Regions from separate parts of the Homo sapiens genome. Here regions 2, 3, 4, 5 and 6 are each linked to region 1. The links are contacts of gene promoters, found by promoter capture Hi-C in blood cells and fetal thymus (Javierre and others, 2016). All regions are on one chromosome and are shown on one strand. Each heading gives the region's core, a stretch centred on a gene start or on the middle of the fragment in contact. The rest is flanking DNA. Distances are from core to core; before and after follow the strand shown.

Region 1 (4,270 bases), core at 1,118-3,617:
AGAGAGCTTAAAACCTACCCCCACAACCACCATGCTGACAAGTTAGCATGAGCCGTAATTCAAATTCAGTTTGCCAGACAGCCCCAAGACCCATACCCTTTTCCCTATACCTAACTCCCTAGGAGGTAGATCTTATGTCCTGCTCTTATGTTCTATGTGGGGCACACTCACCATACACGTTATATTTCCCCATACAATAGAGTGAGACTAGAGGACTATCTTTTGAACCAGGAATTGCTCTCCTAGGAATGATTTGGAAAAAAAGATAAAGAAAAGTTATATTTAAAAAGTGGCAGCTCCAGACCAAGGAGAATAAAAAATAAAAACATTAAAGAATAACAAATAAAATTCTCCACATCACGGACTAAAACCATTTTACAGGTCAAGAAACATCTGCATACAAACTAAGGAACCTATGTAAATTCATATACTAGTTATGGTGGGGCCAGGATCTCAACCCAGACAGTCCGATTCCCAAACAGGCATGGTTAATGGTTACGCTATTGTTTTATAAGCCTTTTTGAGATCCACAGTGAGAAATATATTTCACCTCATGATCCTGATTTTGTTTCACACAAAAGTGAAACAACTTCTACAAAACAGCATTGACCTTAATATGTAGCAAAAACTTTAAGATGTTGATTTCCAGTCATGAAATTCTCTCATGACCCACGATTTAAAAAACACACAATGCTTAAGTGCTTCAAAAATACAGTATTTATTGTAATAACTACAGTAGCAAGAAGAAAAAAACGAAGTGGAACTACGTGTTTAGCAGCAGAGCTGAATAATTATGAATATAAACAATTACTATTGGGAGAAAATACATTACACTCATTGCTTGGAACCATGAATAATACTTATATATGTACGAAATATAGAAAAATAAAATAGGTTAACATAATAAGGATATAGGCAATTATTTTTTTTAATTTTATAAAAACTTTTATTTTTCCTTACAAACTGGGGTAGTTAGGAGACCTGATAATAGCTTTTTTATTTTCTTGGCACCAAAGCAACTTACTTATGTGTTCCTTCTTGCATTATCTGTTCCAGATCATAGTCAAGTTTTCCAATTCGTTTTACTAAGCTAGCAAAATTTTTTATACCAAAAAGAGTAAAATCAAAACAAATGCTCCTTTGTTTATAGATGAAAATCTGGAGCAAAATAACACAACATTAAAAAAACAAAACTTTGCAAACACATCCTAAAGCTACACACATTGAAGCGTTTACAGCAATATGCTCCCTGGGTTCGTTCTCCCTTCCCCCAATCCTCTAAACTGTGCCTTTGGGTCTCAGACCCTTGTCCCGGGGGTCCCTCTGAATCCACCTTTCAAGAGGATGGAGCTGGGCCACTAGGCTGAGGTCTGGCCCTGTTCTCCTCATCTGCCAAAGCCTCACAGTACTGCGCTGGCCAGTCCTTGGGGTCTTGATTATGGACCTTGGCCACAAACTTAAGAACTTTCATCTTGCTGGTTTCCAGGTTGGTTCGCGGGCCCCACTGGAATTCGTAGTCGACGGGGTCGGTGTGGGGTATCCGCCGGTATTCCAGGTAACGCTGTCGCACAAAGTCCTCAGTAATGAGTTTCTTTGGATCTCCGAAAATTAAATGCTTCTTGGTGGGGTAGACCCCTAAGCGCCGCAGAAAGTCCCAGGCTTCAGTTTCCTTGATGGTGTTGCCCTTCATAAAGATGAGCCCTAAGACGATCATCAGGAGGCCCGTAGTGGGCGTGCCTTGGTCACCCCTCATCTCGGCATCCTCCTCCACAGGCTCCAGGGTGTTGATGAGGATGTAAGTGTTGCTCTTGGGTTCAAGTTCCACCAGCTTATACCCGAAGACGTACTGGAGGCGCTCGGCGGCCCGTTTGAAGAGGTCGGGGAAGATGTCCTTGTAGTCCCCGATGACGTGCTTCAGTATGTCGGCCCGCTTGATCGGAATCTTCTTCTGGTCTTTAATCAGCAAGAACTGCACCAGCTCGGACACTTTCAGCTCCAGCTGCTTCTGGCTCCTGGGCCCCACGGCGGGGGCGGCCTGGGCCCGGCGGGCGCCCTGAGGCGAGGGGCCCTGCGACCCCTGCGAGCCGCCCGGCCCGCGGGACGTGCTCGGGGCCTCCTCGGCAAAGCCGTCTCTGAGAACCCGGGCGTCTTCCCCGGCCCGCGAAGCCCCGGGGTTTCCGCTATGGCTCCAGTCTCTGTCCCTCTCGGCCTGGCCGCCAGAGCGGCCCCGGTTCCTCGGTTTTTGCAACATGTCTCCGGCGGCAGGTGCCGGCGCACACTCCGGTAGGCAAGCAGCCGCGGCGGGGATTGCGGGTCGGCGACCCGCTAACGCCGGTGCCTGGAGGCGCGCGCAGTGTCGGCTGAGACTGCGTGCTGCGTCATGAAGCCTGCGCCTTGCGTCAGGGCGGCTGGGCGGTGCGCCTGCGCGGCTGCGGCGGGTACCAAAAGGAACAGCGTTTTCCGTGCAGCCCTGCAGGTCCGGGCGATGATTTTTAGTATAGTGAAGTGTTGTTACCAAACCATGCAAACAGAGAGCGAGAACCGAAACTCCTAAACAAGTGTGTCGCTAAATTCAGACCACACAGGCTCAGGCAAGTTTTACAGACAGTATTATGAGTTTCTAAATCGGGAGCATTTGTAAACGGAAAGAATTCAGAGGATGAACGTGTGAGAAAAAAAAAAGGTGAAGAGGAAGGGCCGACCGTGGAAGTAAAGTAAAAACATTTATTTCTACACAAAATGTAGAAGGACATAAAAGACCCAGAGGGCTCTTAGTTTTCGTCCCTCCACCCAATTTCATACCCTCCATCCCACTGCCCCCAGTTACTTTCTCTAATGCCCCGTGGAGTCTGTTAAAAACCAAAGTCGGCTGCAGGCTTTCTGCGCAAGCAGGACTTCAGTTTCACTATTTCCGTATTTATATTCTCTGCATTAAACTCCTTTAGCTAGACAACTATGAGAAGACCACAAAAAACGTGTCAGTATTAGGTAAATGTTTTAGCTTGGTCACATGGGTTTATCTTTTGGAAAACAACTGCTTTCGTCACAACCACAATTTTAGCAGAAATGGGTAAGAGGAATGCTGCAAACAAACGTGCACTCTCAAGAGATTACTACTTAATTTGGGGCATCACTGATCAAGAATTGCAATAATGTGGAGCTCTTAAATTTCTTAATTCATAATATATTAGCTTTGAGGAAAAAAAAGAGAACACTGGGGGATTTATCTCTCATCTATGATGTGATATACAGTCTCTACTGTATATTTTAATTGTGCAACTCAAGTAGCCAAAATGAGTCATTTCATTAACTCAAACCATCAGCAGTCTGCTGCCATGACTTCTACAGATCTTAGCAAATTTGTTTCTTCTCTATTTACTTGCAAAGAAGAAACTGAATTTCCCTGTGTCTTTTTAAAGCTACCCAGAAAGTGGATAAACTCTTCAAAGAACCAAATTGAGTTCCTCTTTAATGCAAATATATTCAAAGGAAAGCAATTTAGAACACATTATCTGAGTAATAGCATCAAACACAACCTTATTAAAATTTTGTTAATTGTTAGTAGCATAACACTTTTGTTTGTAATTCAGTAGGAAAATGCAATCTGATAATGGCACTGGAACTGCAATAGTAAATGTAAAATCATATTCCATGAACTAATGCAAGTATGCTAAAATCTGGTATGCAATGAGTAATAACTTACTGTTCCACACAAGATGCAACTATATCCTCAGGCATCAATTTTAATGACAAAGGCCTACTATGAAAAACAAATATATTATCAAGGCATTCATTTTTTTACAATGAGAAAATTCATCTGCTTCAGTTTCCTTGCAAATTAAAATCTGGACTTAGGTTCATAGAAGCTTCCTGCCATCTAGAATTCTGCAAAAGGTCCCTACTGCAGGATGTGGATGTTGTATTGAGGGAATAGAGAGACCGTCTCATATTGTTTTATATTGTTTTATACTCAGTACCTGTTTTAAGAAAAAACAACAAGGAAGTAAAACCAAATACAGGCAGCCCAGCGCCAGGCCCAAAACCAGGCCTGGGCCTGCCTGGCCTAAACCCAGTAGTTAAAAATCAACTCATAACTTAGAAACCGATGTTATTCATAGATTCCAGACATTGTATAGAAGAACATTGTATAAAGAACAGAACTGCCCTGTTCTGTTTCTCTCTGACCACCGGTGCATGTAGCCCCTGTCACATACCGCCTGCTTGCTCTGATCAATCACGACCCTTTCATGTAAAATCTTTAGTGTTGTGA
Region 2 (4,270 bases), core at 762-3,261, 180 kb after region 1:
TTTATGTCCTTTATAGGACAAAAACCTCAGCAGAATAAATAACCAACATGTTAGTCACACTAAAGAACCACTCTGAAGCACAGAAGAATAAGCAGAGTAAGATGAACAAGACAAAAACTTTAATATTAAAGAAGAAAATAGAAGTTTGTTACAACAAAATTACACCAAACTTGTTAACAGAACAATGTGGCAGCTTAAGACTCAAGACTTTATTTTTCTCATCCTCAAAGGTCCACTTCATGGTTTTAATTAGACAAACATTTTGTAGAGTACTATAATTCTCTATCTTTTAAATACACATTCACATTATGGTGAAATTGGGAAATCCTAATATTTACTTGTATTAAGAAGTGTTTAAGCAGTCCCTTTCCTCTACAAACTCACCGGTACCTGTTGTTTTTTGACTTTTTAATAGAAGCCATTCTGACTGGTGTGATATGGTATTTCATTGTGCTTTTGATTTGCATTTCTCTAATGATAAGTGATATTGAGCATTTTTTCATAGGCTTGTTGACTGCACGTATGTCTTTGGAAAAGTGTCTGTTCATGTCCTTTGCCCACTTTTTAATGAGTTTCTTAGTTTTTTGCTTGTACATTTGTTTAAGTTCCTTGTAGATTCTGAATATTGGACCTTTGTCAGATGCATAGTTTGCAAATATTTTCTCCCATCCTGTAGGCTGCCTGTTTTCTCTATTGATAGTTTCTTTTCTGTGCAGAAGCTCCTTAATTATGTACCATTTGTCAATTTTTGCTTTTGGTGGTGTTGTCATGAAATCTTTGCCAGTTTCCATGTCCAAAATGGTATTTCCTGGGTTATCTTCCAGGGTTTTTATAGTTTTGGGTTTTTACATTTTAGTCCTTAATCCATCTTCAGTTGATTTTTGTATATGGTGAAGGGAACGGGCCCAGTTTCAGTCTTCTGCCTATGGTTAGCCAGCTATCCCGGCACCATTTATTGAATAGGGAGCCCTTTCCCCACTGCTTGCTTTGCAGGTGGGGGTGTAAATTAGTTCAATCATTGTGGAAAGCAGTGTGGCAATTCCTCAAAGAGCTAAAAACAGAATTACCATTCAGCCCAGCAATCCTAGTACTGAGGATAAACCCAAAGGAATATAAATCATTCTATCATAAAGACACATGCATGCATATGCTCTCTGCAACACTATTCACAATAGCAAAGACACTGAATCAACCTAAATGCCCATCAATGGTAGACTGGGTAAAGAAAATGTGGTACATATACATCATGGAATATGATGCGGCCATTAAAAAGAATGATGTTCCTGCAAAGGAACATAGATGGCCATTATCCTTAGCAAATTAATGCAGGAACAGAAAACCAAATACTGCATGTTCTCACTTAAAAGCGGGAGCTAAACAATGAGTACACATGGACAGAAAGAGGGGAACAACAGACTCTGGGGCCTACTTGAGAGAAGAGGGTGGGAGGAGAGAGAGATTCAGGAAAAAAAAAAACTGTTGGGTACTATGCTTAGTACTCAGGTGAGGAAATAATCTGTACACCAAACCCCCAAGTCACGAATTTACCTGTATAACAAACCTGCACTGAACCTAAAATAAAGGTTAAAAAAAAAGAAGTGTTAACAGCTCCAAATAAGTAAGAGTAACTGTCCACTCCCTGCAGTTGTTCCCACTGAGCCTCTGGTGGCCCCACCCCAATCCCTATGGGGTCTAGAAAGAGTGCCCCGGTCTCCCTGGTCCTTCGCTGATGATGGGGGGTGGCAGCTCTCTGGCCGGCCCTCGGCCCTCGGCCCTCGCCTCTCGCCTGTTAGGTACCCTGGACTTCTCCACATCCTTCCCCACCCCTTCTCGCCTCTCCCACAGGAGTCTGCAGGACCAGGCCAGCAGGTGGCTCAGCTGAGCATCTGCAGACACAGCACACCGACCCCACAGAGAAAAGGCACTCCCAGACCACTGTCACAGAGAGCTCATGTCGGGGGCGCGAGGGGCTGAGAGGGGCCAGTCACAAGTCAGGCAAGTCCATACAGGGACACAGAGAGCAGGCAGAGGTCAGGGCAGCTGTGGATGACTCGGGGCGTGACTGAAATGCATGAAAGGATGGTTCAAGAACAGCCCAGCAGCTCCCCTCTGCCCACCACGGGAGGGTCTTCACTATCAGTGAGGAATTAAGACTGCAGGCAGCGAAGCCCCCTCCCCACCGGAACCTTGCAGGGCTCCCTCGAGGGGCCACCACTCCTATCACAGCCACTGTCCTGCTCATCCCAGTGACCTTAGGGGCCCCACCCCCCTGCAAGTCCTGCTCACTGGCAAGCCTAGCTTGGAGGCAACGCTCGGGGCAAAGCCAGAGGGTCCTCCCCAGGCCTTCTGTGCAGACCTCTGCGAAGAATCCTGCTCAGCAGTAGATATTTATTGTATTTTAATATCAGGGCCAAAAGCTACAGTTCGCTTTTCAGTTAAGTAAATGTGTATTCACTAAAGGGTTTTAAAACCTTTTTCCTGAAAAAAATGTTCTAGACCATCAAATGCCTTTTTATATTGTTAACTTTTACTCATTTAAAATGCATGTTTTCTAAGCCACATTTTACACACTTTTCTATATAGACAACTCTCAATTAATTCCCTAAGCCAAACCCAGAAATGTTTAACACACACTTTATTGACACTAAGGCACAAATGATGAGTGGCCTCTAGTGTTACCCACAACCATCTGCTTTCTCAGCAGCACTGGCACCTGGTGCTGACAGCCCCTCACCCACCCCCATCTCCCATTCCCCATCCCAGAGCAGGCAAGAGGGGAAGTGGATATTGGGAATCCTGAGAGAGCAGGGATTTGGGGCAAGCAGTAACCAGAGAAGGGAAGCCATAGCCCTTCACCCTCGTCAGCTCCCAGAAGCCTCTGAAACACCAGGAAGGAGGCCTCATGCCACATGGTATGGAATGGGGCTCAACTAATGTGATGTGGCGAATAAGCAGAACACGGGCTGCTTGGCTGTTTCATCTGCTTCTGTTTTCTTGGTAGTATCTGGCCTATCAGAGACAATTATACCACACCACAGTCACAGTCCTACCTGCCTCTGAGTCCTAAGTGCAGATTCTTAAGAAGAACAGACGGGAATCCTTTAGCGTCACAGGGTAGGTGTGAGTCTGCGCTCCAGGCTCCAGAGATGCTTCTGCAAGCATGCTGCCCAAATCCACGTCTTTTCTGCTACTGGGAGCTCTCTCATCTTTAAAATACAGAATGCATTTCTCATATCTGAAGGAATATATTTAACTGGTGTCTCAACATAACACTTAAAGCAAAACCCAAAAGCAGAGGGTGGGGGGTTGGGGGGAGTAAAGAGCAGCCATATCCCAGTGGAGGGGCAGGAGGAAGAGAAAGAAGGCCTCAGGAGACCTGGTCAGGCCGGCTGAGCGGCAGGGGATGCAGGACAAGCAGGCAGAAATGAGTGGAAAAGCTGAGAGAGGCCGAGAGGAAATTAAACCGGAGGAGGCAGAGCCAAGTAACGAGCAAACATGAAAGGAAATGCCTCCCTGCTTCCTGCCCTTTCTAAAATCACCTCGAGGCAACTGACCACAAATAGTCTTCTATCACAATAAAAAAGGAGATCAGAAATTTCCCGGCTGTTTAGTGGCCTGCCAATGCCACACCACAGTCACCGGCCTTCACTGAACACCCCGGTGCAGGGGGAGAGAATGTAATAACTTCTTAAGAATCTGCACTTAAGCCTCAGAGGCCGGTAGGACTGTTACTGTGGTGCAGTGATCACGGTGCTGCAAGGCACGGCAGGACAATTTCACAGCCCTGTCCTGGAAGTGGCGGAGGGGAGGAGGACTGTGCCTCACAAGCAGTGTACTAACCCAGGGATGAAAAGCACACATTTACTTAACTGAAAAGTGAACTGTAGCTTTTGGCCCTGATATTAAAATACAATAAATATCTACTGCTGAGCAGGATTCTTCGCAGAGGTCTGCACAGAAGGCCTGGGGAGGACCTGCTAGCTTTGCCCCAGCAAATACAGAGCATAGACACCCCCACCGGCCAGAGTGCCCTGGGCTGGGCTGCACACTTCCTGTTGATTTCTTGTCCAATTATCTCAATAATACATCCTCAAGGAAGGAAGTGGAGAACACACAGAAAAGAAGAAAAGAAATAACGTATATCACCACCAGGAAATAACCACTGCTGCTAATATTTTGATGTGTTTCCAATCAGACTTTTTTTTTGTACATGCACATTGTACAAAATTGGAATCCTACTGTATAGCAGGAATCTTGCTGTGTTCATTTA
Region 3 (4,270 bases), core at 1,192-3,691, 170 kb before region 1:
GCCTGTTCTCTGGTGTCTGTAGGATCCGTACTGTCGACACCCTCCCTTCTTCTGCCAAGGAGGATGATGGGTGTCCTCTCCCTGCCCTGTTACTGATGGGTTTTCCACTGGAGGCTGGGTGGCTTCAGGCTGCCCCTCTTCTCCCATCCAGGGATCCCAGCCTCAGGTTTCCTCCACAATTGTCACTAATGCCAAGGTCCACCTGCAACTTTTCTCACTTCTGGCTTGACCTACTTTTTAGCAAGAGGATTTTGAGCCACAACCCATGAATATAACCTTTAAATGCATGCTGATGCTGAATATAACCCAATTTTAAAAAACAGAAAAAGTTCCTCCGCGGCTGCGGATTGTCAGCTGCACTGCTTTCAACTCCTTTCTCTTTCTAATGAGTTAAAAGCAAAGAAAGCCCAAAAGACCCTTTCCCTTGAAAATTGAGCTAAAATACACATTTATTATTACAATACCGGGCCTCTCTAAAACTCAAAATTCTTGAGGAATTGTCAGCAGGGAGATTTCTTATTTCAGATTTTCTAGTGAATAATTAAATCATAGTTTTTGCTGTTTCGAAATGGAAAATAGACCACCCTGGGCTCCCCAGTGACCACGGAGAATTATTCACCTCGGTGGGCAAACCAATAGAACTTGAAATTCATTGCCACCGTGCAGTGGTAATTAGGATTCTTACAAATGTAAAAACCAATTAAAGGCTATCCTAGTTTGGGGCAGACTCTGAAGAGTTCACTCAGCTCAGAAGAGCCCATGAAACTCGTCTCACAACCATATGCCAGACATACTACAGTGGCTACAGGTGACGAATTAGGCCATTTGTGTGGCACCTCTCTTGGCTTCTCTCTGTCGCTGTGAGGACAGCACTTAGGCCAGCCCCAGGGCTCAGTCCCCCAAGGACGCTGTGGGATGGACATGGTGGTGACTGATTAAATCAGAAGGAAAGGCTGACATTTTCATTCAGCTTCTCTGACAATGTCTTCCCCATTTCTTAAGGATACTTAGAATCCCAAATCCAGGAAACGTAACCTGAGTCTATAAATTCCACAGGGGTCAGCCAGAGGGCCTTGCTTGCCACTGGCAGGAGGGGCTGTGGCGACAGACCCAGGCGTCCCGCCCCATCTCGGTCAAGCTCCCGGGGGCTGGCCCTCCTCCCTCCCAGGTGCCTCTTACAGACTGCCTCGAGAACTCACACTTAGCTAGATGATGCGGCCGGTGGCGTGCAGGTAGATTTCTGATGGCCAGTAGCATTTCCTTCTACGTGGACTCTGGGTAATTGTTAAAATTGCCGAGCCTTCCTTCGAGTTATTACTTTTTACATTGACGGATAAAATTGTATGTATTTGTTATGTACAACATAATATTTTGGAGCATATACACATTGTGAAATGACTATATCTAGCTAATTAACGTGCATTACATCACCTAGTTTTAATTTTTGTAATGAGAACACTTCATTCACTATCTTAGCAATTTTTAAGAATATGAAATATTATTAACGGTAGTCACCATGATGCACAATAGATCTCTTGAACTCATTTCTCCTGTCTAGCAGGAGCTTTGTGTCCGTGGACCAATACTTCCCCCTTCACTCCTTTGCCCCAGCCCCTGATAACCACCATTCAGCTCTCTACTTCTGTGAGATCGACATTTGTAGCTTCCACCTGAGTGAGATGGTGCAGTATTTATCTTTCTGTGCCTGGCTGATTTCACTTCACAGCATGTCCTCTAGGGTCATCCATGTGTTGGAAATGACATGGCTTTTTCTTTGTGAAGGCTGAGTAGGCCTCCAGTGTGTCTGCGCGCCACATTTCTTTATCCATTCATCGTGAATGGACTTCGGGTTGATCCCATGTCTTGGCTGTTGTGGATAGTGCTGCCGTGAGCATGGGAGTGCAGGTGTCTCCTAGACACGCTGATTTCACTTCCTTTGGAAATATGCCCAGCAGTGGGATTGCTGGATCACATGGTGGTTGTAGTTTGAATTTTTGGAGGAACCGCCATTCTATTCTCCACAGTGGCTGCACTGATTCACACCCTCCCACAGTGTACCAGGGTTCCCTTTTCTCCACCCCACGCCAGTGCTTCTTATCTTTTATCTTTTTGACGAGAGCCATTCTGACAGATATGAAATGATATATTGTTGTGGTTTTAATTTGGATTTATCTGGTGATTAGGGATGTTGAGCATTTTGTCATAATGCTATTTGCATGTCCTCTATTCCGAGTTGGTTTTTGGACTTTAACAATATCCACTGTCCTTCTTAGAATTCTGAGGGGGATGCCCAGACGCTGACGGAAGTGGACCTCTTCATTTCCACCCAGAGGATCAAGGTTTTAAATGCAGACACGCAGGTAAGCGTTTAAGACAGTTGTTCAAAATCAGGTAAACTCCTAAGTTCGACTCCTTCTTGTCCCATGGTATAGGCCCTCGTTCTCAGCAGCTTCTCTCCTGTGCTCTCTGCGCCCATCAACCCAAGGCCCATAGCCCGGGCTGCGGGAGGAGCAAGGAGCGCACAGCAGGTAGCAGTCGTGCTGGCGTCACCCCAGGGCTCTGCGGGCGGGAGGTAGGTGGGAAGACCTGCTGGGCTACCTGGGCCCTCCCCTGCTTCCCCACTCCCGGGTAGCCTGACCTCTGGGGACAGAGGAGGCAGCAGCCCCCACTATGTGGCTCACACTGCAGCCCACCACTCCCAACCCAGTGCCGTGCCCTGACCATCCTCCAGGCCCTCACATACCCTGATACGGGCACAGGGGCGCCCTTCCTCATCCCATGTCTGTCCTGTGTCCAGGCTTGCACCTTGTCCCACTGATCTTTGTGTCCTGCACCCCCCTACCCTGGAACCAGCCCCCTCCTGGAGCCTGGCACTTGGTGAAAACTCAGGGAGACAGGTGCCAGGGCTCAGGCACTGGGCTTGCGACGCTTCACAGACTTTGACTTCATTTTCTGATCTTTTGTGGGCAAACCATCTGGACTAGATCCCCCCACCAACCCTCCGAGCCCCATGCCTCATCACCCACCTGTGCTGGGTGTCCCCAAGACCACCACAGGCTGGGTGGTTTGGAGGACTGACAGGACTCAGTGAGCTCACAGCTGAGATTTATTTCAGCAGATGGCTCCAGAGCAGAATCAGCAAAGCGGATGCAGGCTTCCAGAGCCCTCCCCGCAGTCACACAGGACACACTGAACTCCCTGGCAAGGGGCTGTGACAACAGAGAAGTTGTGTCTACCAGGGAAGCTCATAGACACTCAGCCCAAGGTGTTTACTGGGAGTTGGTCATAGGCACCCTCTGCCTGGCAGCTACCAAAATTCCAGACTCCCAGAGGCAAAAGAGGTGTCCAGCCTAGACCACGTTGTTTGCACAAACGGTTTAGGCAAAAGGAACCATGGTTGTCAGTTCGGGTGCTGGGTACCCTCCTGAGATCCACGTTCCCAGATGCCAGAGAGGGCCAGCCTTGCAGGCGGGCCTTTCTGGGTACAGCTGCTAGGCCTGCCCCAGTACCTCTTCTTGCCAGTGTACATGGAGGGTGCCACACCTGGGGTGGGAGGATGGGCTTGGGGATTGAAGCTGAGCCCCATCCTCATGAGCTGTATAGCCTTAAACAAGTTCCTGAACATCTCTGAACCTCCTAATACCCACAGCCCCAGCTGAAAGAGTAACTCTTCCGCTGGATCCTGTGAAGGAGAGATGAGAAATCTCCTAGGCTGGCCCAGTTCAGGGTTCACTCCACTGGCCCCTTCTCCCTTCCTTTCCTTTCCCTTCTGGATCTTTGGATTCTGGACAGGGCATGCAAATTAAAGCTGTTGGGGCAGAGGAGCTGGAGAGGAGGGAACAGGTGAGAGACTGGGAAGGCCAAAGTAGCCATTCAGAGCAGGAGAGCAGATGCGGCCATGTTGGTAGGCAGCCTCTGTGAGGAGGAGGAGGGATCTGCCATTGATAGGAGCTGGGGAAGGAACATGTTTCTGACACCTGGGGATTGATTCAGGCATTTATGACAGTGACAGAAATCAGGAGATGCTGAAGAGCCACTCCAACTGTTTCCTTTCAGTGTCCCTCCCTGGAAGGTGACTCTTGTGGTTATGAAACAGCCTCATGGCTTTGGCCAGAAAAAAAGTCAGCAGCTGAGACAAAGGTGAAGCAGCATGCACTGCAAAGTGGATTCTGTGAGGAAGAAATGAGGTCCAGAGGTTGCAGAAACACTCGAGTTTCTTTTGTGAACAGAGGACAAAAGCATAAAAGACCAGTTGATTAGTTTTTTTGAG
Region 4 (4,270 bases), core at 1,251-3,750, 160 kb after region 1:
AAACGAAGACTGCCTGAGCCCCAACCCCCGGAGTCCAACTTGGGGTACCTGAGATATAGCCCTATCTGTTAGTTTCCTATTGCTGCTGCAACCAATGACCAAAAACTCAGTGGCTTAAAACAATACAAAATTATCACCTTTCAGCTTTTGAGGTCAAAAGTCCAAAATGGGTTGGGTTGGTAGGACTGAGCTCCTTCTGGAAGCTCCAGGGGAGAGTCCCTTTCCTTGCCTTCTCCAGCTTCCAGAGACTGCCCTCAGCCCTTGGCTTGTGGCCCCACTGCACTCCTGAGTTCTGCTTCCATCCTCGCCTCTCCTTCTCTGACTCTCCTGCCTCCCTCTTTCCCTTATGAGGGCCCTTGTGACTACCTTGAACCCATTCAGATACCCGGCATAACCTCCCCATCTCCAAACCCATAACTTCACCACATCTACAAAGCCCCTTTTGCCATGTAAAGTAATACATTCATAGGTTCCAGCGATTAGGAAGGACGTGGACATCAGTGGGGTTGGGGGTACGAGTCTCCCTATACACCCAGAAACCTGCACTTTGAACAAGAACCAGCAGACTGCCTGGTGAGAAACACCAAATCACACCCACTACATGGTGGCTGGAGCTTTTTCCTTTAGGACACTCTTCAGACCCATCACCTTAAAAGTCCGAAACCAACAGAGTGATAAATATCATAATATAAACAAAACACCATCCTTGACAATTTATTAAGATAAAATATTGCAGTATGTACCTAGACCTACCCAGAATTCATTTTTAAGTGGAAAGTTAAATGACAGAACAGAAATGTCTAAGAATCATTGGGGAAAAATACAAGTCAAACCCAAAGCCAAGTCCACTTTCCACAGCAGAATCAAGATGACACCCTGTGGAGACTCCGATACACTCAAAAAACATACTTCCATGTTTGTTTGTTTGAGACAGAGTCTCACTCTATCGCCCAGGCTGCAGTGAAGTGGTTCGATCTTGGCTCACTGCAACCGCTGCCCCATGGGTTCAAGCGATTCTCCTGCTTCAGCCTCCCGAGTAGCTGTTATTACAGGTGCTCGCCACCACACACGGCTATTTTTTTGGATTTTTAGCAGAGATGGGGTTTCACCATGTTGACCAGGCTGGTCTTGAACTCCTGACCTCAGGTGATCCACCCTCCTTGCACTCCCAAAGTGCTGGGATTACAGGTGTGAGCCACCGTGCCCAGCCACTTCCATGTTTTAAAGCTTCACTTTTCCATCTGTCTTAAGCTCTTTTCCCAAAAAAAAAAAAGTAAAATTTCTGAATTGTTTAAATACATTATTAGGAAACAGAACTTAAAAGGCCAGTCCTCTTAGTACATGCCCAAATTCCAAATGTGTCACTATTTCTATAATAAATAGCGCCAGCACTGACAGACTTCATAATGCAGGGTTTCCTGTGCTGCCATTCACCAGCACACACAAAAGTGAGAGTAATGAAAATGTCAGGAAACGGCATCCCATTTAGAAACCAGGAAATACAAAAATGCAGCTATCAGTCATCCCTAAGGCTGGCCAAATAAAAGGTTTTAAATATAGTCACGGATCACCAGTGTCACAAGCAACAACATTCACTGCACAGAGAGGCAGCAGAATTTGCAGCATTGAGGATTTGCTGGGTGGCTGATGAGATCTGCCCACTTTGAACTTGCTCTCAACTGACATACCCAGATCTATTTTTACATTAGCTGTCAAAATGATAGGTCTCCTGCATCCTATGCCTGCACTGTTAATTATCTATCTGCCTATCTGTCTATCCATCCATCCATCCATCTTGAGATGTCTATCTATCCATCCGTCCATTCATCTATCTTGAGATGTCTATCTGTCCATCCATCCATCCATCCATCTTGAGATGTCTATCTATCCATCCATCCATCCATCCATCCATCCATCCATCCATCCATCTATCTTGAGATGGGGTGTTGCTCTGTGGCCCAAGCTGGAATGCACTGGTGCGATCTTGGCTCACTGCAGCCTCAACCTTTCAGGCTCCAGCAATCCTCCTGCCTTAGCCCCACAAGTAGCTGGGACCACAGGCACACGCTACCACACCTGGGTAATTTTAAAAATTTTGTAGAGACAGAGACTCACTACGTTCCCAGGGCTGGTCTAGAAATTCTGGCCTCAAGCAATCCTCCCACCTCGGCCTCCTAAAGTGCTAGGATCACGGGCATAAGCCACCATGGCCAGCCAATATTTAATTTTTGAATTTGGGACTCCCACGTTGGAGCTGGGATTTTGTACTTACATGTATACTCTCTAGCACATGTAACCCATTAAAAACATCACCTGCTTTGCTGGTTGCAGTCCTTCCTCCCCTCTGTCCTAATTCTGACAGGATCCGGTAGAAGGGACAAATTCGTCTGTGGTTGAAATCTACGGACAGCCATGAGCTGAAACTACGGACCCCGTAGTTCTCAAAGGAATACAGAGAAGCAGGTATGGAATGCCAACAGGGCTGTGCAATGCCCGATCCGGGCCGGCGTGAGGGCACCTCCATGATGGGGTGAGGATGAGGGAAGGAGTCCCAGTTCAAGAAGCCGTTACCAAAAGGCACTCCTAGCGAGCCAGGTGGCTTCATTCATCCACGCCTGATGTAAAGCCACCCACATACCCCATCTATACAATAGGGCTGGGCGCAGACTTTCAAATACCTATTGAACCTTTACTTCCTCTGAAACCCAGAAGCCTGTGTTACAGACCTCAACCACCACATACACATTGTCTCTAAGGAGAAATCAATTCCGTGGGGAAAACCTGGGAATGGAGGAAGCGGAAACAAGAAAGTGGGAAGTGGGGAAAGGCAAGAAGGCTTTCTTTCAGAAGGTGAGTTAGAGATACCACCTGTCTCCCCCATTGATAAAAGGCTCCTCCCATGGCTGGCTCCACTCATCCTGCCAGCCTCATTTCAAAGGCCACAGGCTCAGAGAGGTCCCTGCTGAGCCCCGAGTCCACAGCACAGCCCTGGCCCCTCTCGATGGCCTTGCAGTTTTATCTTAAACATGTATCTCTGTATGAAATGGTTTCCTTATTTTTTGCCTGTCTCTCCTGCTCTAGGACGTGTACTCGCCAGGCAGAGGCCTGGTGTGTCTTCTCCAAAGCAGTATCTCCAGCTCCCAGCACAGGCCTGGCCCATAGCAGGGACTATGATCATTATGAATGCATTGAGAAGCCAGGCATGGTGGCACATGCCTGTAATCACAGCTACTCGGGAGGCTAAGGCAGGAGAATCACTTGAACCCGGGAGGCAAGCAGAGGTTGCAGTGAGCCAAGGTCATGCCACTGCACTCCCGCCTGGGCAACAGAGTGAGACTCCATCTCAAAAACAAACAAACAAACAAACAAAAAGAATGCATTGAGAGATGGGTGGGGGAAGGATGGGAGGAAGGAGGGAGGAATGGAGGTACACCCATCACTCGGTAAAACAAGGCCTAATCTGACCTAGATTTAATTATCCTGGAGACCACCCACTCCCCAAAAAAGGGCCAATGACCACTCTGAGTCGGATGGATTGACATAAGGAGAGAGAGGCAGTGTCCAATGAAACTGTGCTAGAGATCCTCATGGTCCCCAGGTTCCTGGTCTTACTGACACGGCTCCGGTGAGCTCCCACCCTCCCAGATGTCTTTCTAGTAACTCCTTTGTGCGTAGCTACCCAAAGCTGGTTTCTGCTGCTTGCCCTAAATATACCCCATTCCAGGAGCATGTATTCAGGGTGGCTGAGGCACACTGCGGGCCCAAACTGTTTTCAAGCTTTACATCTGGGCACTCTACCTGTTTAATCCTCACAAGGACCTAAAGAGGGAAATGCAATTATAATCTGGTATTCTAAGGATACCAGTGGCCGGGTTACGTAACCCCGGGTAAAATCACGCTGGCAGTAACAGGGGAGCCTCGGTTTATACCCAGGCCATAAATTTCCCTCCTGCGATGCCACGCTGGCCCCTGCACGTATGGTTTATTGTGATAAGTAAAGAATCCTATATAACTTATGGTTTTTATGAATCTAAAATTTTGATGAAACAGGTCTGCTTGGAGTAGGATCCAGCTGTGTCATTTTGAATCTTGTACAACTGTTAGACTGCTTTGAGTCATTCTCCTAAAACTGTAATTTTATTTTAAATTATATTTAAATTAATTAAAAATATAATTTTATAACTTGCCCCGGAGACATTTTACAGACATGCTTTTAGCAAAAATATAACCCACAAAATAAAAGTTACTTTGTGAAACCCTCTCCCAAAAT
Region 5 (4,270 bases), core at 1,059-3,558, 140 kb before region 1:
CTCTGATTCCAGCTCAGGTAATTACATTTCTGCCTCCCTTATCTCCCGCCACTTCAATCAGATAGCTGGTCTCCTTCATCTCTCCTCTTCAACCAGGCTGACACCAGGGCGGGGGCTGGGGCTGCAGCCTTCCCACCCACACAAAGGGTGTGAGCTGCCCCCACAGCGTGGGGCTCGAGAGGTGGTTCCGAGACAAAGAGAAGACGGAGAGCTGCCCAAGTGCGTCCTTTGATCTCACTAAGATGCTTTCGCATAATACGGTCCATACTATTTTTCTTCCTTAGCCCTCTCATTCTGCTGGGAGGGAATCGGTGAGGGAGAATTCACCCCACCATCAGCACCCACCTGCTTTTTCACTGAAGTCATTATGTGCCAATAACCAGTCCTGGAAATCTCTGTCCAGAACCTTCCACTGAATCACAAAGAGCGAACAATGTCCTAACGGTTTGTTTCATCCTGTGTCTCCCCTCCCGTATCTAACCCTCTCTCGGACTTGCTTTTCTTTTGGATCGTAGACGGGTGGTTAACTTAGAACTCCGCTGTCTAAAAGAAAATCTTCTGGTAATAAAGAAATATAAATAAAACAAGAGAAAGAAAATATACAGTGGGACAAGGTCAGGAGGAAACTGGATTCACTTCATGTTGTGCAGAAGCATCATTCACTTCCTTCTGGCTCCCGGTCAGATTTGGTTTCCAGAGGAGGCAGCTCCTGGGAGCCTATCTATCACCTCTCGCAAGCAGAGTGTCAAGAGTTTAATTTAAATGTGGCCCTTCCCTGATGTCAGAAGCCACCTTGCCACGCTAAGCCATGGGGAAAATAGCACTTCCTTTCATACAGCATTTTTGATGAACTATAACAGCAGTAGAAAAGGGTGGGGAAGAAATATATTTGTGGCATAGAATTTAAGTTGAAATTTGAGTTCAGTGAGGAAGCTCATAAACACAGCTCCTTACAGAAGGAGAGCGGGGAGAGGGCTGTTGACAGGAGACGCTGTGGGAATCACTTCACCTGGGTCTTACTGGTTTGCAGATGTGCTATTCTGAACAGTCATCGTAACTGGAAAATAAGTTGGCTTTTCAACAAATAATTCAAATTGTATGAAGCTAAGACACTTGCATGGAAATTCTGCCCCATTCTGTAGTTTCCCACTCCTGGGTGAGGCCAACCATTAGAAACAGATTTATGAAGAGCTCTTCGTTTGGGGCAATTCCAGCGATTATGGAAAATGTGAGTTAAAATTTTAGGCTGGTGGCTCAAGGCAAACTTTGAAGACACTTTGCTAACAGATTTTATGTGGATCGTAAGTGTCAGGACCTGGTGCTGCTCCTGGACTCTGCTGGTCCCTCTCCCTTCTCACAACTCCTTGTCTCGCACTCAGGTTCCCTTCCACCTGGCATGCTGCCACCAAATTAAACTCCTAAAGCATCACTGGGTCGCACCCAAGACGCCAAACTCCTCAAGGGCACTTCTACAGTTTGACATCCAAAGCCATAAAATATCTGCCCAAATGATTTCAGCCCTGGGGTGCTGAAGCTCCCACAGCCAGGCTCCAGGCTGTCCTGCCATGCGCCTTAGCTGGTGCTGTGACCTTCACCTGCACCACCTCCCCCTCCTTCACACACCCCAGCCCGACAAGCCCCCCCATATCACCTCCCCCTCTACACGCACCCCAGCCCACCCAGATCACCAGGCCCGATTCCTCTGCAGAAGCCTCAAAGGAGTTCGTGTCTGTCCGGTCTCCATGTGAGAGTGCGAGAGTGCCACGACAGGGGGATTCTGTCCTACATCCTCTGGAGGGCCACCGTCGTCAGTGGCCCCTGAACCATACGCTTGCCACCCAGACAAGAAGATCAAACTGGTAATTTCTCAATCACTTTCCTGCTATCAAAAGAAACTCACTCCTTGAACACTGGCTGAAGAGTACAGCCTCAAACCACAGGAAAGAGAATGGCATCTGACCTAAGCCGGAAGGGAAGTGTGCACGGCCCGTCACCCATGCGAGTGCTCACGGAGCCCACCCTCGTGGAGGCCGCCCCCTCTTGGGTTAAACCTCTTCCCCAGCACACCCCCTGCCCCGCCCCAGAGTCAGCTCCTCCCCGACAGAGCCCGCCTTCTGCAGCCTCCTCTCTTTATCCAAACTGAGGCCGAGGGCACTTTCTACGCCATTTGTCCTAACAAGGAGGAGCACTACTGACCCTGCCTCGCCCGGGCTGCGGGGTCGTGCTGTGAAGGGGTGCTCCTTGCTGTCTAGTCAGAGGGGCCTTGCTGCCTGGGGAGGGGACAGCTGGTGGTGCAGCTGGCGGCACGGCCTTCCCTCTGTGGACGGTAATGGGTTTCTTTGACTTCCAGACTCCCAGACACGGCCGTGAATTGAAAAGTGCTCCCAGGCCATGGGGTCAAAGACAGTGGGCCCGAGGGCTCTAGCGGCCCCTTCATCACCAGATGCTGCCCTGCTGCCAGGCGGGCGCCCAGGGACAGGCCCTGCAGGCGGTCGTGCTGTGCCCCTGCCAGCACTGGGAGCTGGGGGTCTCCGAGCCAACACATGCTAATTCGAGATCAGCCTCTGACCTTTCAGCTGTTCTCACCGCAGTTCTGAGAAAGAGATCTCAACTGAGAGAATTCCCCAGAGTTCTGGAGAAGGGTGTCGCATTGGTTTCAGAACCAGCCAGATCCCTTCCAATATATTCTATTCTTCAGAGAAAACAGTAAAACTGTGAACACAACAGGAACCCATTCCTTCCGGGGGCCGCTGTGAGGTCAGACATTGAATGGCACACCCAGGTCCAGAAGCTACTTCCAGCAGGCAGGGCCCTCGGGAAGCCAGGGTCTGGGCTCCACGGACAGGGGTTCCTGTCGTCAGGAGGCAGAGGGGTCCAAGGGGCAGGGAGAACCGGGAAGCAGGCTCAGAGCCAGTCCCAGTGCAGAGCCGGAATTGTGATGGCAGCAGGCAGGGTCACTGAGCAGAGGCGGTGAAGGGGACAGAGCTGCCCCCGCGCCACAAGGCAGCCATGGGGAACCACACACCCCTGCCGCCTTCAGGGGTTTCCGGGTCCATCTGCCGCCCTGCCCGGTGCCCCTGCTGGCTACAGCATGGAGCTTCCCATTGCACCCTCGGTCAGCCTCCCCTCTGCCTTCCCAGGGGCTTCCCTCACGGAGGGCCCTGTCCTGGGCCTGCCATCCCCAGTATCTAGGTCCTTCCACATCTGCCTGGTAACCTCCTCAAGGTCCTAGATCCACACTCCCCTCTACCTACCATCCCATCTTCTCTCCTCTTTACCAAACATCCTGCGAGAGTGATCTACTCCTGCTCTCAAAGTGGGAGCAGCAGCAGGGCTGAGGCTTTTATACCCCCAACTTCAATACCCCAATTACTGACTCAGGAGCCCTGGGGGTGGGCCCAGTCATTAGGATTTGATTATCAAGTTCCCCACAGGGACACCCACTGGTGTCTGAAAACCACAGCCACACCTGCGCTCCCCTGCGCACGTGCCGTCCACTCCTTTACCTGGTGTGGTCCAGCCCTGCCCTCCATCGCATCAAAGCTGCTCTGCCAAGGCCACCAGCAGCCCCTCCATGGTGCGCCACGTGGCCCTGGATGTTAGCTTCTGGACAGCACCTGACCCATTGCTTTCTTCCAGAACTGCTGGTTTTGGCAAATCCAGGCTCCTGGGAGCCCTGCCTAGTGCCCTGTAGCCTGTCGTGTGTGGGGGTGCCTTTCTCCTGCCACCTGCAATGGTGTCATTCTGTGGGGCTCCCTCTCTCACATTTCCCAGGCCCCAGTGACAGCGGCAGCTAACTCTGATCACTATGAACTACAGCTCCTGTCATCTGGTGGACACTCACTCAGAATTCAACCCACCACACCCAGACAGGTCAACACCCATGCACACTCATCCGAGACTCTTTACGGACGACCTTCTGTTTGGGGGATACGCTGTGCCTGTCCTTCTTCCCTCTGAGCCTTTGCACAGGCTGTTCCCTCTCTCAGGAGCCCTTCCAGCCCCACTCCCTGCACCTCGCATGCCTGATGCCCACCCAGCCTGACCTCCCAGACCTTCCATGGACCCCCAAATTGGGCCTGACATCATGACAGGTGCCCCACAGTGTACTGGGCTCCCCTTGCAGTGCTGATGACAACTATTATCACAGCCAACTGTCTCCACTGATAACATTGATTTGAATTATTTTTATCATAAATGGAAAACTAAACAACATTGGGAAGGCAGAGGTCCCAGCTCAGCTTTATAAAAACACCTAAGAACATCTCCA
Region 6 (4,270 bases), core at 1,039-3,538, 130 kb after region 1:
CAGGTGCATGCCACCACACCCAGCTAGTTTTCGTATTTTTTTTTCTCAAGAGATGGGGGTTTCGCCACGTTGCCCAGGCTGGTCTTGAACTCTTGGGTGCCAACGATCCTCCTGCCTGGGCCTCGAAAAGTGCTGGGATTACAGGTGTGAGCCACCACGCCAGCCATTGTTGTGATTTTGATTTGCATCTCCTTAAGGATTAGTGATGTTGAGCATGTTTTCATGTGCTTATTAGCCATCTGTATCTCTTCTGTGGAGAAAGGCCTAGTCAAGCCTTTTGCCTATCTTTGAAGCTTTCCTCCCAGCTTTATTGAGGTATGACTGACAAATAAAAACTGTATATAAAATGTACAACATGATTCTGGTATACATATACTGTGAAATGATTACCACAATCAAGCTAACCATATCCATCACCTCACTAGTTACCATTTCTTCTGAGTGTTTGATAAGAACATATGAAGTCTCTTTCAGAAAATTTCAAATATACAGCACATTATTATTAAGTATAGTCACTATGCTGTACATTACGTCTCCAGAATGTATTTCTTTTATAACTGAAAGTTTATACCCTTTGACCAACATCTCCCCTTTCCCCTCTCTCCCCCAGCCCCGGGCAACTACGCTTCTCCTCTCTGTTACCATGAGTTTGACTTTTTTTTTTTAGAGTCTACGGACAAGTGAGATTATTCAGTATTCATCTTTCTGTGTCTGGCTAATTTCACTTAGCATAATGTCCTCTGGGTTCATCCATGTTGCCAAAAATCCTTTGCCCATTTTTGAATTGTGTTCTTTACTTTTTTGTTATTGAGTTTTAGGAGTTTTCTATATGTTCTGGATAATAATTTCTGATGAAATATGTGATTTTCCAGTACTTTTTCCCATTCTGTGGGTTGCCTGTTTACTCTCTTAATAGTGTCCTTTGATGCACAAGTTTTTAATTTTGATGAAGTCCAGTTTGCCACTTTTCTTTTGTTGCTTATGCCTTTGGCATCATATCCAAGAAATCACTGCCAAGCCCAGGGTTGTAAAGCTTTTCCCCTAAGCTTCCTTCTAAGAGTTTTATAACTTTAGCTCTTATGTTTAGGTCTTTAATCCATTTTGAGTTAATTTTTGTATAGGATGTTAGTTAAGGGTCCAACTTCATTTTTTTTGCATGTGAACACATTAAATTAGTTTTTACAATTTAATTTATATAATTCAGTTATACAAGGAGTGACATAGTAACTGATGGGGGAAAAGGCTATTCAATAAATGGTTCTGGGATAATTGTTAAATGTAAATAAATAAGCAGATAGAGAAATTAAAATTAGTTCCCTCCCACAAACCAAAATACATTACAAGATGATTAAAATATTAAATGTAAATAATTAACCACCCAGGTTACTGGCTAAAACTCACAGAAAGGCAACTGCTCCTCAAAAAAATTTACTGAGAGGCCAGGCACAGTGGGTGGCTCACACCTGTAATCTCAACACTTTGGGAGGCCGAGGTGGGCAGATCACTTGAGGTCAGGAGCTCGAGGACAGCCTGGCCAACATGGTGAAACCTGTCTCCACTAAAAATACAAACAATTAGCCAGACATGGTGGTATGTGCCTGTAGTCCCAGCTACTCAGGAGGCTGAGGTAGGAGAATGTCTTGAACCCAGGAGGCAGAGGTTGCCGTGAGCCGAGATTGTGCCACTGCACTCCAGCCTGGGCGACAGAGTGAGACTCCATCTTAAAAAAAGGAAAAAAAAATTTACTCAGAAAAACACCTTATAAGTAAGTAATCAATAAAATGCAAAGTGGAATAAGAGGTCCCTTGCTGCCTGTCAAGCTAGCAGTGGTTAGAAAGAACAGTGGTCCTCACTTACAGGGCTGTAGAGAATGTACATCATTAAGAGGTGCGATGCTGTCAACTGGCAAAAAGTATAATAAACAAAGCATGGGCTCTATGCAAATAAATTCAAAACCCAGGATGACAAAGATAACTTGCTAAATTACTACAATTGATTCCCCAAAAGACCAAAACACTAACTGTTCCCATAAACACCAAGAAATTGGAAATATGCTCAAACAGCTGTAGGCAAAGTCTTCAAAAACTTCTACGTATGAAGATTTCCAAAGCTGTTTAAATTTTTTCTGAGCACAGAGGGAAAAAAGGGGGAACTTCCAAATTGTCTTTATAAAGGTCAGTGTAACAATCACAAACCTGTAAAATATCACAAAAATAAGGAACAGACCAGTGGCTTTTAAACAGAAGTACATTGTTTTTATTTTATTTTTCCTGTGCTGGATCAATATTTAATGAATTTCCCCCATGTATCAGGCATTGTTGGACTCTTTCAGATATTTAACTCCTTCCCCCTCATTATTTATTTGGCAAAAGTTACATTAAGTTATTCCCTCCCCTCACAAAGCAGGTTCTCCCTGACTTCAAGGGCCAACATCCAAACAAAACCAAACATGAAAGACAGAGACTCAAAAACTTAGCATTCCTCATCTACTACACATACTAGATATAAACACACAAATTTAAATGCCAAAAACTCATAGGACAGTGCATTAAAATGATAATTTTACTGGTACATCATTTTTAAATAAAAGGTTAGAAAACAGAATTCAGCAGTACATTTAAAAGAATGAAGAACATGGGGGTTCACGTCAGGAATGAAAAGATGGTTCTGCATATTAATGTGACGAAAATGAAAAATTCTTTCATTCAGTAGATGCATGGAAGACGTCCAATAGAATTTGATCTCCATCCTCTCTTTTAAAAAAGAACTCTTAGGGCTGGGGGCAGTGGCTCACACCTGTAATGCCAGCACTTTGGGAGGCCGAGGCTAGCGGATCACTTGAGGTCAGGAGTCCTAGACCAGCCTGGCCAACATGGTAAAATCCTGTCTCTACTAAAAATACAAAAATCAGCTGAGTGTGGTGGCACATGGCTATAGTCTCAGCTACTCGGGAGGCTGAGGCAGGAGAATCACTGGAACCCGGGAAACGGAGGTTGCAATGAGCCAAGATCACGCCACTGCACTCCAGCCTGGGTGACAGAGCGAGACTCCGTCTCAAAAATAAAATAAAATAAAACAAAATGATTCTGAAAGTACTCGTGTGGTATGCAGAATTATGAGATGGCCCCCAAGGTCCCCACTCCCTGGTGTACCTGCCCTGTGTAATCCTCTCCCTTGGGCCGTGGGTGGGACTGTGAATATGTATGTGATTAGGTTACGCTGCCTGACAATGGTGGATGGGAGGTCCCAAATCAGTTTGCTGTTGAGTTCATCAAAAGGGAAGTTCTCTTGGGTGTGCCTGACCTAATCAGGCAAGACCTTTGGTTCTGGGCCCTTGGTGAAGTCCCAATTTGAGGTGTAAGAAGTTGTGCTGCTGGCCTTGAAGAAGTGGGCTGCCATGTGGTGAGATGCCTCTAAGAGCTGAGAGCTTCCCCACCCACAGCTTGCAAGGAAGCAGGGCTGAGTCACACAACCCCCAAAATGAATTCTGCCAACAACCTGAAGGAGTTTGGAAGTGGATCTTTCCCTCGTAAAGCTTTTGGATGAAGATGCTTCCAGCCTCACCAGGATTTCAGCCTGCAGACCCTGAGGACAGGACCCAATTAAAACACTCCAGAGTCCCAACCCTTAGAAACTCTGAAATAATAAGGTTGAGCTGTTTGAACCTGCTATGCTTGTGGCAATTTGCCACATAACAATAGAAAACTAATATATCTAGCTAATAACACTAAAAAGGAAAAATAAAAGAAAGTTATAAACATTGGAAAGAAGAAGCAAAATCATTACTATTTGAAAATAAAGTGATCACCTAATTAGAAAACCCAAAGGAATTGATTCAGAAGAATAAGAAACCATAAGAAAATTCAGTATGTTACCTGGTTACAAAATCAATATGTTGAAAATTATAATACTATATATAGTTGTCCCTTGAACAAGAGGGGTGTTAGGGGCACCAACCTCCTGTGCAGTCAAAAATCTATGTATAACATTTTCACTCCTCCAAAACTTAACTGGTAATAGTCTGCTGTTGACTGGAAGTCTTACCAATCAGATAAACAGTTGATTAACACACATTCACATTTTGGATGTCGTATGTACTATATGCTGTATTCTTACAATAAAGAGAAAAGAAAATGCTATTAAGAAAGTCATAAGGAAGAGAAAATATATTTTACTATTCATTAAGTGGAAGTGGATCATCATAAAGGCCTTCATCCTTGTCATCTTCTTGTTGAGTAGGCTCAGGAGGAGGAGGAGGAAGAGGAGGGCT

The links. Contacts are between HindIII fragments. The CHiCAGO score rates a contact against its expected background, and 5 or more counts as called.
Region 2: a fragment that was not itself captured here is called in contact with the fragment with the promoter of NSMCE3 in region 1 in 2 of 17 cell types (megakaryocytes and total B cells); the score reaches 5.7 in megakaryocytes.
Region 3: a contact is called between a fragment that was not itself captured here and the fragment with the promoter of NSMCE3 in region 1, in 1 of 17 cell types (naive CD4 T cells). The highest score is 5.4, in naive CD4 T cells.
Region 4: a contact is called between a fragment that was not itself captured here and the fragment with the promoter of NSMCE3 in region 1, in 3 of 17 cell types (naive B cells, megakaryocytes and total B cells). The highest score is 5.7, in naive B cells.
Region 5: a fragment that was not itself captured here is called in contact with the fragment with the promoter of NSMCE3 in region 1 in 1 of 17 cell types (naive CD8 T cells); the score reaches 5.4 in naive CD8 T cells.
Region 6: a contact is called between a fragment that was not itself captured here and the fragment with the promoter of NSMCE3 in region 1, in 2 of 17 cell types (total B cells and naive B cells). The highest score is 7.7, in total B cells.

Annotation. Positions count from the first base shown.
Region 1 is chr15:29,267,455-29,271,724 of GRCh38, forward strand. NSMCE3 (NSE3 component of SMC5/6 complex) reads right to left here and starts at 2,368. Exons shown (of 1, transcript NM_138704.4): 1 at 1-2,368. The coding sequence starts at 2,251. The coding sequence ends at 1,337. The region is part of intron 2 of ENTREP2 (endosomal transmembrane epsin interactor 2); the gene reads right to left. RefSeq lists enhancers at 1,663-2,164, 2,165-2,664. The HindIII fragment of the contact is 8,019 bases long and covers 1-3,864 here.
Region 2 is chr15:29,449,520-29,453,789 of GRCh38, forward strand. All of the region lies in intron 1 of ENTREP2 (endosomal transmembrane epsin interactor 2), which reads right to left. Among named protein-coding and RNA genes, the nearest start is that of ENTREP2, 120 kb to the right of the region's middle. The HindIII fragment of the contact is 4,810 bases long and covers 1-4,270 here.
Region 3 is chr15:29,096,217-29,100,486 of GRCh38, forward strand. APBA2 (amyloid beta precursor protein binding family A member 2) reads left to right here. Exons shown (of 15, transcript NM_001353788.2): 9 at 2,274-2,360. Among named protein-coding and RNA genes, the nearest start is that of NSMCE3, 170 kb to the right of the region's middle. The HindIII fragment of the contact is 7,917 bases long and covers 1-4,270 here.
Region 4 is chr15:29,427,305-29,431,574 of GRCh38, forward strand. All of the region lies in intron 1 of ENTREP2 (endosomal transmembrane epsin interactor 2), which reads right to left. Among named protein-coding and RNA genes, the nearest start is that of ENTREP2, 140 kb to the right of the region's middle. The HindIII fragment of the contact is 2,550 bases long and covers 1,226-3,775 here.
Region 5 is chr15:29,129,985-29,134,254 of GRCh38, forward strand. All of the region lies in intron 7 of ENTREP2 (endosomal transmembrane epsin interactor 2), which reads right to left. Among named protein-coding and RNA genes, the nearest start is that of NSMCE3, 140 kb to the right of the region's middle. RefSeq lists an enhancer at 2,369-2,985. The HindIII fragment of the contact is 7,022 bases long and covers 1-4,270 here.
Region 6 is chr15:29,395,668-29,399,937 of GRCh38, forward strand. The region is part of intron 1 of ENTREP2 (endosomal transmembrane epsin interactor 2); the gene reads right to left. Among named protein-coding and RNA genes, the nearest start is that of NSMCE3, 130 kb to the left of the region's middle. The HindIII fragment of the contact is 2,489 bases long and covers 1,045-3,533 here.